2 separate regions of the Homo sapiens genome follow, and region 1 is linked to region 2. The links are contacts of gene promoters, found by promoter capture Hi-C in blood cells and fetal thymus (Javierre and others, 2016). All regions are on one chromosome and are shown on one strand. The core of a region is centred on a gene start or on the middle of the fragment in contact, and the rest is flanking DNA. Distances in the headings are between cores, read along the strand shown.

Region 1 (6,241 bases), core at 2,342-4,841, 270 kb before region 2:
TGTTGTATTTATGTTTATTAAAGTGTTCATTCTGTGCCTATTTTTTCGTATCTTCTAAAATACCCTTCATTGTAATTAATTATAGGTTGTTAGTTTTATGTCTTAGTTCTTGCTTTAATCTGGCTTTATAGTTTTTTTCTCTAAGAGAGACATTTGAGTTTTGCGTGTTCCGTGTGCCTTTGTCATTTATTCGTATAATAAAATCGATAAGTAACTGGGCTAAAGTATATAATTTTCATTTCTTGTAGCTGTTCTATTACTTGACTTTTATTTTGTGATTTAGTAACTTCTTGGATTTTGTGACTTTTTATTTGATTTGATTCTTTTAATGACTTAAATTGGGATTTATTAACTTTTGAAATTAATGTTCTTTGATACATCAGAAAATCTCATGCTGTTTTTCTTTAAACATAAAAAGAAAGGGTGAAGCTCGTTGACAGAGATCTGCTTTTTTAACTTTGTCTTCACTCCATTCTGATACCATCTGCTAAAGGCTGATTTCAGTGTTTCCTTCAGAAAGAAGTTAAAATAAGACTTAATGTTGAAGTGGAATAAAATATTGTAACTAATAATACAGTTATATCTTTATAGATATTCAAAGTAGAATATTTTAAGTTTGAGGAAAAGAATTAGTTCAAATTAATTTACAGGTATTTTAAGAAAAAAATGGTATATTTCAGGAAGGTTGACAGGATCATTTTAATAAAAACTCATTTTTAGGTTCACAATTCCTTATCAGAAACTCTTAAGGGCCAGATGTATTTTATAGCTCAGATTTTTTTTTTTTTGAAAACTAATAAGATGCACTTACCATATGTTATACAATGCCCCTGCAGGGTCAGAGGCAGCACTTCAGAGTCAAATACATTAGTATTTCAGCAGCCAAAGCTATGACTAAAGTCTAAAGTGGGTAGACTATAAATAGTTTCATGTCAGTTCAGGTCAGACCTTGCCACCAATTAAATTCCCATCAGGTTTCACCACCAATGAATTCCAGAAAAGTTTTGGTTTTCAGAAGTTTTTGGATTTTGGAATTGTGGGTAAGGGACTGTAGACTATTTACTTTCTTAGCTCTAATGTTTGCTAGCATTTGTTACTCTCTGAAAATGGAACCCACTTTCCTTTTTTTTTCTGCTACAGGATGTAAGATTAAATCTGTTCTTTCTCTATAGGCCAGTTAATAGAAATTAGGACACCTCTTCACAAAGCTCAATACCTTAGGCAGTTGCCACTGTCCCCTGATACCTCCACTAGATACTTCCTACTCCTTGCTGGCTTTATATGAAGGATCTCATAGTTCCCCTCTTCTCCTCTCTCCTTTCGGAGGTACCTCGTGTTAATAAATGCTAAGTAAAAGAGATTTAAAATGTACAGTACCTCATGTAATATCTATCCTATCTCAAATAGAAATGTTTCAGAAGGTGCAACATGCTTTCTCTGGACCGACTTTTCCTATTACCAGCGAATGTGGAAGCTTAAAAAGTAACGTATACTTGTGTGTCATTTGGACTTTGGTATTACCATAAGGGAATATATACTTATGATAACATGAAACTCCAAATGGTACAGAAGTATAAAGGAAAAGCAGAAGTTTTCTCTTGCCCTACTGCGCCCCTCACTCCTCCAGCTTCTGACCACAAGGTTTGGACCCTTTTAAAATAATTTTTTTCTTTAGCTCAGACATTCCAGGGGACAGTTTGGGGAATTCTGATTAGGCATTATAACCCCACTTGGATTGATTTTGTGTTCATTGTATGTTAAATTATGGAGATGGCCTTTTCTGTGTTAACTGGCAGTTATAGCTTTTATTTCTAGAGCGATTTGTTCAGATTGCATGGTTTTGAACTGTTAATTAAATACTTTTTGTTTGTTTCGAGACCGGATCTTGCTCCATCGCCCATGCTGGAGTACATTGGCGCGATCATAGCTCACTATAACCTCAAACACCTAGGCTCAGTCTTCCCACCTCAGCCTTTTGGAAAGCTGAGACTGCAGGCATACATCACTACGCCTGACTGATTTTTAAAAATCTTTTTGTAGAGACAGGGTCTCACTGTGTTTCCCAGACTGGTCTTGAATGCCTGGACTCAAGCGATCATCCAACCTCTGCCTCTCAAAGCACTGGGATTACAAGATACATTTTTTAAGAATATTAATTGTGACAGATTGAAAGTGTCTGAGTATTATTCAGACACAGAGATTGAAATATAAATTATTGATCTATTTAATGAAAAATAATTTTTAGGAGTCAAAAACAGCATATAATATATTTGACAGTGAGGTTTCCCTAACGGAGCGCTTACTTAAGAAACGGGGTGTTGGCTCATTCACCAAGTCAGTTGTTCTCAAGGTAAGCATGTGGGCAGTGGGATGCAGATGTCATCCTACTAATTATTCCCAAGGATGTTGTTGACATTATTTATGTTCTTAAATCCATAATAAAGAAGATCACGATGCATTTAAACATGAATGTCCTTTTTGGGAAAGTGTAAACTTTTGTCTTAATATGGAATCCACATTCTTTTATTGTTCAGTTCAACAAACTTTTATTGAGCACTAACTTAGTCAAGAACTGTCTTTGGCCTGGCAAGGTGGCTGAGGCCTGTAATCCCAGCACTTTGGGAAGCCCAGGAGGGCAGATCACCTGAGGTCAGGAGTTTGAGACCAGCCTGGCCAACATGGGGAAACCCCAGCTCCACTAAAAATACAAAAATTAGCCGGGCATGGTGGCACGTGCCTGAAATCCCAGATACTCAGGAGGCGGAGGCAGGGGAATCACTTGAACCTGGGAGGCGGAGGTTGCAGTGAGCCAAGATTGTGCCATTGCATTCCAGCCTGGGCAACAGAGCGAGATTCTCTCAAAAAAAAAAAAAAAAAAAAAAAAAAAGCTGGCTTCACAGTGGAGGTATAGAGCATTGGGACATAAGCTAGAACAAAAGATCAGAAATCACTTTTGCTTGTCATAATGAGGCTATAAGATATTTCCTTTCAAATGAGGGCACACGTAATAAGTATTGCCTGACATGTATTCTACATAAGGACATTCAGTCTCAAGTTGTTTGGTCAAGTCCCTAACAGGCAGTCACTCCCAGACTCCTATCCCCTACTGCCCCACACCCTACACATACATAGGGCCTTGGTTTTTTTTTTTTTTTTTTTTTTTCCAATCCTTATATTTAGAGCCATATATGTGGGACAGCAGAAATGGTCATTGGGATTCCAGGGTGCCTGTTTCCTAGCTGAGAGTCTCAGAGTCCTTGTTTTTGCAGAGTGTAATATAGAACACGTTTTTTGTTAAGTGAAGGTCAAGAACTCTTTGTCTTCCTTTAGGGACAGCAAGTCCTGTGGAGCCTTTTAGGATTCAGTACTCTGCATTAAACAGGAGCTTTTCTAATATGGCTGGAAACTGTTGGGGGTGGATTAGAGATTTTTAAGGATCTTATGGCAAGCTTTGGCTGGTAGAGTACAAGAATCTAGTGGTGTCTTTTATTGGGGTTTTGGGGGTGCTGGGAACTATGACATTACAAAGAGCCACTAATTGTTAACTGAAGGAAAAAATACTGGTCAATGAAGGGAAACTTAACTATAAAATCAACTTAGTAGAAATAAACCATTAAGTGGTACTAATATGGGCAGGCACAGTGGCTCACAGCTGTAATTCCAGCACGTTGGGAGGCTGAGGCAGGTGGATCTCTTAAGGCAAGGAGTTCGAGACCAGTCTGGGTAACATGGTGAAGCTTCATCTCTACTAAAAATACAAAAATTAGCAGCCAGGGCTGGGTGCGGTGGCTCATGCCTGTAATCCCAGCACTTTGGGAGGCCGAGGTGGGCAGATCACCTGATGTCAGGAGTTCGAGACCAACCTGGCCAACATAGCGAAACCCCAGCTCTACTAAAAACAAAAAACAATACAAAAAATTAGTCGGGCATGGTGGCGTGTGCCTGTAGTCCCAGCTACTCTGGATGCTGAGGCAGGAGAATCGCTTGAACCTGGGAGGTGGAGGTTGTAGTGAGTGGAGATTGTGCCACTGCACTCCAGCCTAGGCAATGAGAGTGAAACTCCATCTCAAAAAAAAAAAAAAAAGCCAGATGTGATGGCCTGTGCCTGTAGTCCCAGCTACTCAGGAGGCTGAGGCACGAGAATTGCTTGAACCTGTGTGACAGAGACTGCAGTGAGCTGAGATCACACCACTGCTCTCCAGCCTCGGTGACAGAGTGAAGGTCGCTCTGTCTCAAAAAAAAAAAAAAAAAGAAAAGAAAATGGTAACTAGTTCAAGCTAATAATTTAAGAGTAAATAAAAGGTATACATATGGAAAAACTATCTTTAGAGTGTATGAAATTAGTACATTTCAAGATGGTGGGCCAGGCATGGTGGCTCATGACTGTAATCTCAGCACTTTCGGGAGGCTGAGGTAGGAGGATTGCTTGAGTCCAGGATTCAAGACCAGCCTGGGAAACATATGAGACTTTATCTCTATAAAAAATAAAGAAAATGGCTGGGCGCGGTGGCTCACGCCTGTAATCCCTGCACTTTGGGAGGCCAAGGCAGGTGGATCATGAGGTCAGGAGATCGAGACCATCCTAGCTAACACGGTAAAACCCCGTCTCTACTAAAAATACAAAAAAATTAGCCAGGCGTGGTGGTGGGCGCCTATAGTCCCAGCTACCTGGGAGGCTGAGGCAGGAGAATGGTGTGAACCCTGGAGGTGGAGCTTGCAGTGAGCCGAGATCACGCCACTGCACTCCAGCCTGGGTGACAGAGCAAGACTCCGTCTCCAAAAAAAAAATAAAATAAAATAAAGAAAATTAGCTGGGCATGGTGGTGTGTGCCTGTATTTCCAGCTACTCGGGAGGCTTAGGTGGGAGGATTGCTTGAGCCTGGAAGGTGGAGGCTGCAGGGAGCCGTGGTTGTACCACTGCACTCCAGCGTAGGCAACAGAGCGAGACCTTGTCTCAAAGAAAAATACTGTTACCATAAAACACATGCAATTTCAGTCCTTTGAGATCTGTCATGATTTGTATGGTCTTCTTTGTGAATAGTTCTATGTGTACCTGAAAAAAATGTATGTTCTGCTATTCTTGGGTGTAGTGTGCTATTAATGTCAATTTAGCCAAGTTGATTGTTGGTTCTGTTCATATATATATATATATATATTTTTTTTTTTTTTTTTTTTTTTCTTACTGATTTTCTTTCTACATTGATATAATGTAGTTTCTGAGAAGTGTTGAAATATCCAACTATAATTGTGGATTTGTCTATTTCCCCTTTCAGTTCTGTTCATTTTTGCTTCATGCATCTTGAGCCTCTGTAACTATGTGTATATACACATTTAGGATTTTTATGTCTTCTCAATGAATTTAGCCCTTTGTAATTATAGAACGTTTCCTTATCCCTGGTAATATTTCTTATCCTGAAGGCTATATTGTGTGATATTAATATGGTCACTCCAGCTTATTTATGTATTTGTATATCTTTTTGTTTCCTTTTACTTTTAACTTATTCGTGTCTTTATTTTTTTAATGAATTTATTTTAGATAGTAGATAGTTGGATTTTTAAAGTCCAATCTTACCATCTTTGTTTTTTAATTGAAGTGTTTAGACCACTTACATTTATGTCATTTTCAATATGGTTGGGTTTAAGTTTATCATTTTGCTGTTTGTTTTCTATTTATCCCATCTGTTTTCTGTTTATTCTTTCCTCTTTTCCTGGCTTCTTTTTGATTACTTTTTTACTATTCCATCTCCTCTGTTAGCTATAAACCTTTGTTTTACTTTTATAACAGTTGCTTTATGGCTTAAAATATGCATCTTTAACTTATGCAGTCTGCCTTAAAATAATATGCCACTTCATTTATAGTGTAAAAACTTCAAAAAGTGCACTTTCATTTTCCCATTATATCTTTGGACTATTGTCATACATTTTACTTCGACATGTTAAATGTCCCACAATTCATTGTTACCAATTTTGCTTTTAATGACAAAAAGCCTGAAAAAGAAAAGTATTTTCCATTTACCCACATATTTGCCATTTCCAATGCCCTTTATTCTTTTGTTTAGATCTGAGTTCCCATCCGTATTATTTTATTTAGCCTGAAAAGCTTCACCGTTTTTTGTACTAAAGATTTCTTCTAGGCTGTGCACGGTGGCTCACGCCTGTAATCCCAGCACTTTGGGAGGCCAAGGCAGGAGGATAGCTTGAGCCCAGAAGTTCAAGACCAGCTTGGGCAACATGGCAAAAA
Region 2 (6,497 bases), core at 2,986-5,485:
TTGCACCTCAGTGCTAAAGAATAAAGTGGGGAGGGGAACGATTTGTTGAGCACAGGAGTCCCAGACAGTGAGCTAGGGAGCCAGCATCTATTTTTGCTCTTGCACCTAACACCTGGGATCATCAGTCACATTTTATAGGTGGGAAGACTTATGTGCTGAAAGATAAGTAACTTCCCCAAGTAACACAGCTAATAAGTGGTAGCGCCAGGAATGGTCGGTGAAAAGGCAGACAGAAAATGAGGACTCCATGTTAAGGAGTTACCACGGCAAGTGAAGACGTTCCTATAGTGGAAGAGACCTAGGCATTTAAAAACAAAACCCTCAGAGGAGCTGACTGCAGTGGCTCATGTCTGTAATCCCATCCGTTCGGGAGGCTGAGGTGGGAAGATCACTTGAGGCCAGAAGTTTGAGACCAACTGGGCAACATAACAAGACCCCGTCTCTAAGTTAATAAGTAAACAAAAGTAGACGAAGGCGATGGCACGTGCCTGTAGTCCTAGCTACTCGGGAAGCTGAAGTGGGAGGATTGCTTGTGGACAGAAGTTCAAGGCAGCAGTGAGCTATGATCATGCCACTGTCTTCTAGCCTGGGTGACAGACCCCATTTCTAAAAAACTAAACAGCCTGAGACAAGGTCTTGAAAAATAAAAAATCAGAGGAGAAGGGAAACAGAACTGGGGTGATGAAAGATATAAGACAAAATGATCAAGCAAGATCTTTTCCTGAATGAGGAAGAAGACTCAGGTAGAAACTTGTTTGGAGGAGGAAAAGTAACAGCAAAGTGAAGCAGAGGAAGAACAGAGGCCTAGAAGACTGAGGAGATCACTGAGTTTACAATGGGCATGGGTACGTGCTCTGGTTTCTCTTCAGATTATATAAATCTTTCCACCTTTTACAAGAGGCATGGGTAGAAAATGAGAAAAGTAAATTTATCACAGTGTATCAAAGCAATGAGTGCCAGGAAGCACTCTGCAAAGAGTGGGGAGTTTGATGGAGCAAATTCTTCATCTTTCCAGAACTGTGACTGCCCTCACCCCCAAAACCAGTCCTCTGCAGTTCAAGAGGGGAGGTGGAAGAAGACTTCAGTGACGAGCCCAGGTGACTGACAGGCTTCTCTGATGGCCTGAATATTCTGAAATTGGCACTCTAGTCAATTCTGACAGCTAACTCTGGAGTTCAGGTGGAGGCATGAACAAGCCAGGGAATGAGGACACCGAGGAAGTGTGGAGGAAGAGGAAGTATAGTGGCAGAATCTAACTTGTATCATGGCTATTGTGGGCGTTATTTCTCTTACTGGGCTAGGCTCCTTTGGGGCAGCATTTATGCATCCAGCAAACATTTACTGAGCACCTATGCTATGCCAGGTTTGGGGCTCAGTGCCAGGAACACAGACATGATCTCTTGCCCCACTGAGTTTGCCATCAATGAGCAAGGCAAGCAACACTGAATTCTGGTAAGAGTTTTGAAAGAGATGCCAGGAGGTCTCAGCATCCAGCCGGGCGTGGTGGCTCACGCCTGAAATCCCAGCACTTTGGGAGGCCAAGGTGGGTGGATCACCTGAGGTCAGGAGTTCAAGACCAGCCTGACCAACATGGAGAAACCCCGTCTCTAAAAAAAAAAAAAAAAAAAAAACAACGAAAAAACAAAATTAGCCAGGTGTGGTGGCGCATGCCTGTAATCCCAGCTACTCAGGAGGCTGAGGAGGGAGAATCGCTTGAACCCGGGAGGTGGAGGTTGCGGTGAACAGAGATCACACCATTGCACTCCAGCCTGGTCAACAAGAGTGAAACTCTGTCTTAAAAAAAAATAAATAAATAAATAAAAGAAAAAGAGGCCGGGCACGGTGGCTCATGCCTGTAATCCCAGCACTTAGGGAGGCCGAGAAGGGCAGATCAGAAGGTCGAGACCATCCTGGCCAACACGGTGAAACCCCATCTCTACTAAAAAAAATACAGAAAATTAGCCGGGTGTGGTGGTGGGCGCCTGCAGTCCCAGCTACTAGGGAGGCTGAGGCAGGAGAATGGCGTGAACCCGGGACGGGGAGCTTGCAGTGAGCCGAGATCATGTCACTGAACTCCAGGCTGGGCGACAGAGCGAGACTCTGTCTCAAAAAAAAAAAAAAAAAAAAAAAAAAAAGAAGCCGGGAGGTCACTCAGCATCTAAGAAAGCCCAGAGGTGTGGAGGGAGAACACTGTCATGGGTGCTCCATAGGTTTTTGAGTGAATCTGTGAATGAAAGCAGGAATGGGAAGGTGACTGGAAAAGAAGTTATTGTCAAAGAAAAGATCTTGAAGCCTTGAGATCTAATCATGTACTTTTTTTTTTTTTTTCTTGAGTTGGAGTCACACTTTGTTGCCCAGGCTGGAGTGCAGTGGCACGATCTCGGCTCACTGCAACCTCCACCTCCTGGGTTCAAGTGATTCTCCTGCCTCAGCCTCCTAAGTAGCTGAGATTACAGACACCTGCCACCACGACCTGGCTAATTTTTGTATTTTGAGTAGAGATGGGGTTTCACCATGTTGGCCAGGCTGGTCTCCAACTCCTGACCTCAGGTGATCCACCTGCCTCAGCGTCCCAAAATGCTGGGATTACAGGTGTGAGCCACCGTGCCTGGCCCTTAATCATGTACTTGTAATAGTCTAGAAATATTATGGTTATTGGAAAAGTGAAGTTAACTCTCAGCAAATAAACTGGGAGTTAAAATTGGAATTCCTCCACAGGTCTCATTTTAGTAAGGCACTCAGAAACAAGTAATTTCAAAGCAGCATAGTACTGGGCTCAAGCGATCTTCCCGCCTCGGCCTCTCAAAGTGTTGGGATTACAGGCGTGAGCCACCACACCTGGCTTGAGTGTCTTTAGATTCCTCACGTAAAAGGCAGAGAGCTAGGAGTTAAGTGCAGGTGGAGAGGGTGCAGGCACCCGGCTCTTTTCGTTTGTTTTGTTTTTGAGACAGGGTCTCACTGTTGCCTAAGCTGTAGTGGCAAAATCATGGCTTACTGCAGCCTCAACATCCTGGGCTCAAGTGATTCTCCCACCTCAGCCTCCCAAGTAGCTGGGACTACAGGTGCACACCACCATACCCAGTTAATTTTTGTATTTTTTGTAGAGACAGTGTTTCATCATGTTGCTCAGGCTGGTCTCCAACTCCTGGACTCAAGCGATCTGCCCAGCTCAGCCTCCAAAGTGCTGAGATTATAGGCGTGAGTCACCGTGCCCAGCTGAGACACCTGGCTCTTACAGCTCCAGATGAACCCTTTCCTGTGTGATCACCCCACTGGCACTCCAGACTGAACAACATAGCAAGACCCTGTCAAAAAAAAAAAAAAGGGGGGGGGCCACTTGAGTGTTTCTATTTCTATTTATTTATTTAATTCTTTTATTTTTTGGAGACGGAGTCTCGCTCTGTCGCCCAGGCTGGAGTGCAGTGGCGCGATCTTGGCTCACTGCAACCTCCGCCTTCCGGGTTCAAGAAATTCTCCTGTCTCAGCCTCACAAGTAGCTGAGACTACAGGTACAGGCCGCCATGCCCGACTAATTTTTTGTATTTTAGTAGAGACAGGGTTTCACGTGTTGCCCAGGCTGGTCTCAAACTCCTAAGCTCAGGAAATCTGCCTGCCTCGACCTCCCGAAGTGCTGGGATTACAGGCGTAGGCCACCGCAGCCGGCTCACTGGGGGCGCAGTAAATGCCGATTTCCCTTGGGTATCTTCATTTCTCCTTAGAGCCGAGCTCGGTGCGCCGCGGGCAGGAGTGGGTGGGGCGACAGTAATAAGAGTAACAGCAAGCGTACACACGGCCTTCCAAGTGTGCCAGACACCGCTCTAACACTGAATCCGCACAACCCGAAAGGCAGGCCTTTTTTTTTTTTTTTTTTTTTGCTTTTTGTTTTTTAGAGACGGGAGGGTCTCCCTGTGTTGCCCAGGCTGGTCTCGATCTGTCGGCCTCAAGCGATCCTCCGGTCTGGGGCCCCCACAGTGCTGGGATTACAAGCGTGAGCCACCGCGCCCGGCCAAGGAAGTCTTAATGTACCTCTTTTCAGACAGGAAAACTAAAGTGTAGCGCGGCTAAGTAACGTAGGAAGCATCAATCATGTTTCTGGTCAAAGAAGCGAACCAAGTCAATTCTCAGGCAGAAGCAGCGGAGATTCTCCGCAGCCGGCAGCGCCCAGGGCGCCCGGAACCCAGAGAGCGAGACCGCGTGAAGGAAGTCCCGCCCCGCCCCGTCCTGCCCTGGCCTCCAGGTTTCCGCTTCCGCTCTTCCCTGGTCCAGTCCACCCTGGCGGGGTCGCAGGGTTGGGATGGCGGCTGGAGGCGATCATGGTTCGCCCGACAGCTACCGCTCACCTCTTGCCTCCCGCTATGCCAGCCCGGAGATGTGCTTCGTGTTTAGCGACAGGTATAAATTCCGGACATGGCGGCAGCTGTGGCTGTGGCTGGCGGAGGCCGAGCAGGTAACGGATCCCGGGCTGAGGGGCTGGGCCGGGAGGGACGGGCCCGCCCCAGCACGTGCCGGGCTCTGTTCCGGGCTGGGCTTAGCCACCCCGGAGCTGCGGCCCGGCTATTTTCAGCTGGGTGTTCCCTGTCCTGAGGAGCTGCGGCCCCAGGAAAGCAAGGGCAGGAGATCCGGGAGCCGCCACCTGTTGCCTCACGTGTTCTCAGTCCGAGAGGGTTCGAGACGCGGAGGAGGCTGGGAGAAATTCAGCCTGTAGTTTCAGGGAATTCATTTTGGCCATCCCCGCAGGAGTACGCTGCTAACCACAGACACCGAGCGCTTGTTTCGTACTGTTGTGCTCATTATTTCACTAATCTTTTCTTGTGTAATCCATGAAGATCTTGCAGGCTTGATGGTGTTTTTCCCACATTGCAGGGGAGAACAAAGCCCGGACAGCTTGTTGTTTGCCCTAGCCCATCCAGCTATTAAGAACGGAACTGGGATTTGAACCTGGGTGCACTCCAGAGCCTGAGCTGAGCACGTAGCCCCTTGGTTTTCCACAGTGCCTGTGTAGTTAGTGACAGGACTGGAATGCTTGTTTTCTAGGCCACCGTTTCTGCCTCACTGGCCTCCGCTTTGCCTCTTAGGAGAAGACTCCGGGTAGGGGTTTATTAAACGGGGTTTATAATTTCTTTTCTAAGGGCTGCATAGAGAACTTCTTAGCCCAGCGGTTTCAGAAATAGCTCCAGAAGAGTTGAAGCAAACTGAAGGTGATCCAGAGAGCGATAATGTTTCTCCTCAAGTTTCAGAGGAAAGTGCCACAACGAGCAAGTTGGCAATGCCCTCTCAAACGGCACAGTAAACATGGAAACAATTTGACTTCGGGCCTAGGACCTGTACCATGGAACTCTCCAAACAGGAAACTTTCATTCTAGATTCCCTCCCTCCCCTTATCACTGCCCTCCAAAATATTGGGCGATACACTACAATAATAGCAGACATTCAGATAGTGCCTTCTGAGACCCAGGTCTTAACCCTTTACACATGGTTGCTTATTAATCCTCCAAACAACCCTGAAGAGTAGGTATGAAATACTATGACTGTACCTGTTTTACAGATGGAAGAATGAAGCATCAACTTAATAAACTCTTGGCGTAGATAGCGATAGTAGTAGACCTTAATCATGTGTTGTGGTTTGTGATGTACTAGTGTGTACTCTTTCTATTTCATCTGATATTCTATTCTGTAGATGAGGGTAGTGGTACTCAAGACTTTGCCAGGGTCGCCAAAGCTAGTAAATGGCTTCAAGCTGGAATTGGAATGTAGAGTCTGAGTATGTGTTCTTTGTGTTGGCCTAAAATGCATACAATTTTGGCTTTGGATTATCTGTTAGGGTGTCAAAATTACCATAAATTGCATAATAACTTAGTAGCTAAGAAAAAACTTGGAGAATAAGAGATTAGGAGGAATGCAGAAAATTTGTAGTAAGGAAAGTATGAATTTTGAAAAGATAAATTGCTTGAGGGGAGGAAGCAGTATGGCCGTGCTGCCCTCTGCTGCTTTGCTTTGGAAGGAGCCCAGAGGTGTCATGTCTTCTGTGACTGTAAAGGTTCCAGGCAGTTCTGCCACATGTGGCTGCCGAGTACTTGAAATGCAGCTAGTGTGACTGAGAAACTGACTTTTTACTTTTATTTATATATTTAGGTTTTGAGACTGGGTCTGGCTCTGTCGCCTAGGCTGGAGTGCAGTGGCACAATCTTGGCTCGTTACAACCTCTGCATCCTGGGCTCAAGCTGTCCTCTCACCTCAGCCTCCCAAGCTGGAACTAGAGGTGCACGCCACCACGCCCGGCAAATTTTTGTGTTGTTTTGTAGAGATGGGTCTCACTGTGTTTTCCAGTGCGGTCTAGAACTTCTGGACTCAAGCGATCCACCGACCTTGGCCTCCCAAAGATGTGAGCCACCATACCTGGCCTGACTTTTTACTTATAAATATTTTCCAATACTTTTTAATTAATCAATTTAAATTTAAATAGCCATATCTGGCTAGTAGCTCCTTTCTTGGATAAA

Evidence for each region. The method cuts DNA at HindIII sites, captures the fragments that hold promoters and counts their contacts. A CHiCAGO score of 5 or more calls a contact.
Region 1: a contact is called between a fragment that was not itself captured here and the fragment with the promoter of ADSL in region 2, in 1 of 17 cell types (activated CD4 T cells). The highest score is 5.4, in activated CD4 T cells.

Annotation. Positions count from the first base shown.
Region 1 is chr22:40,070,002-40,076,242 of GRCh38, forward strand. It overlaps a transcript of TNRC6B not described here. Among named protein-coding and RNA genes, the nearest start is that of TNRC6B-DT, 29 kb to the left of the region's middle. The HindIII fragment of the contact is 288 bases long and covers 3,448-3,735 here.
Region 2 is chr22:40,342,265-40,348,761 of GRCh38, forward strand. ADSL (adenylosuccinate lyase) reads left to right here and starts at 4,236. Exons shown (of 13, transcript NM_000026.4): 1 at 4,236-4,447. The coding sequence starts at 4,295. RefSeq lists silencers at 1,936-2,108, 4,489-4,578 and enhancers at 3,751-4,264, 4,265-4,778, 4,779-5,291. The HindIII fragment of the contact is 11,540 bases long and covers 1-6,497 here.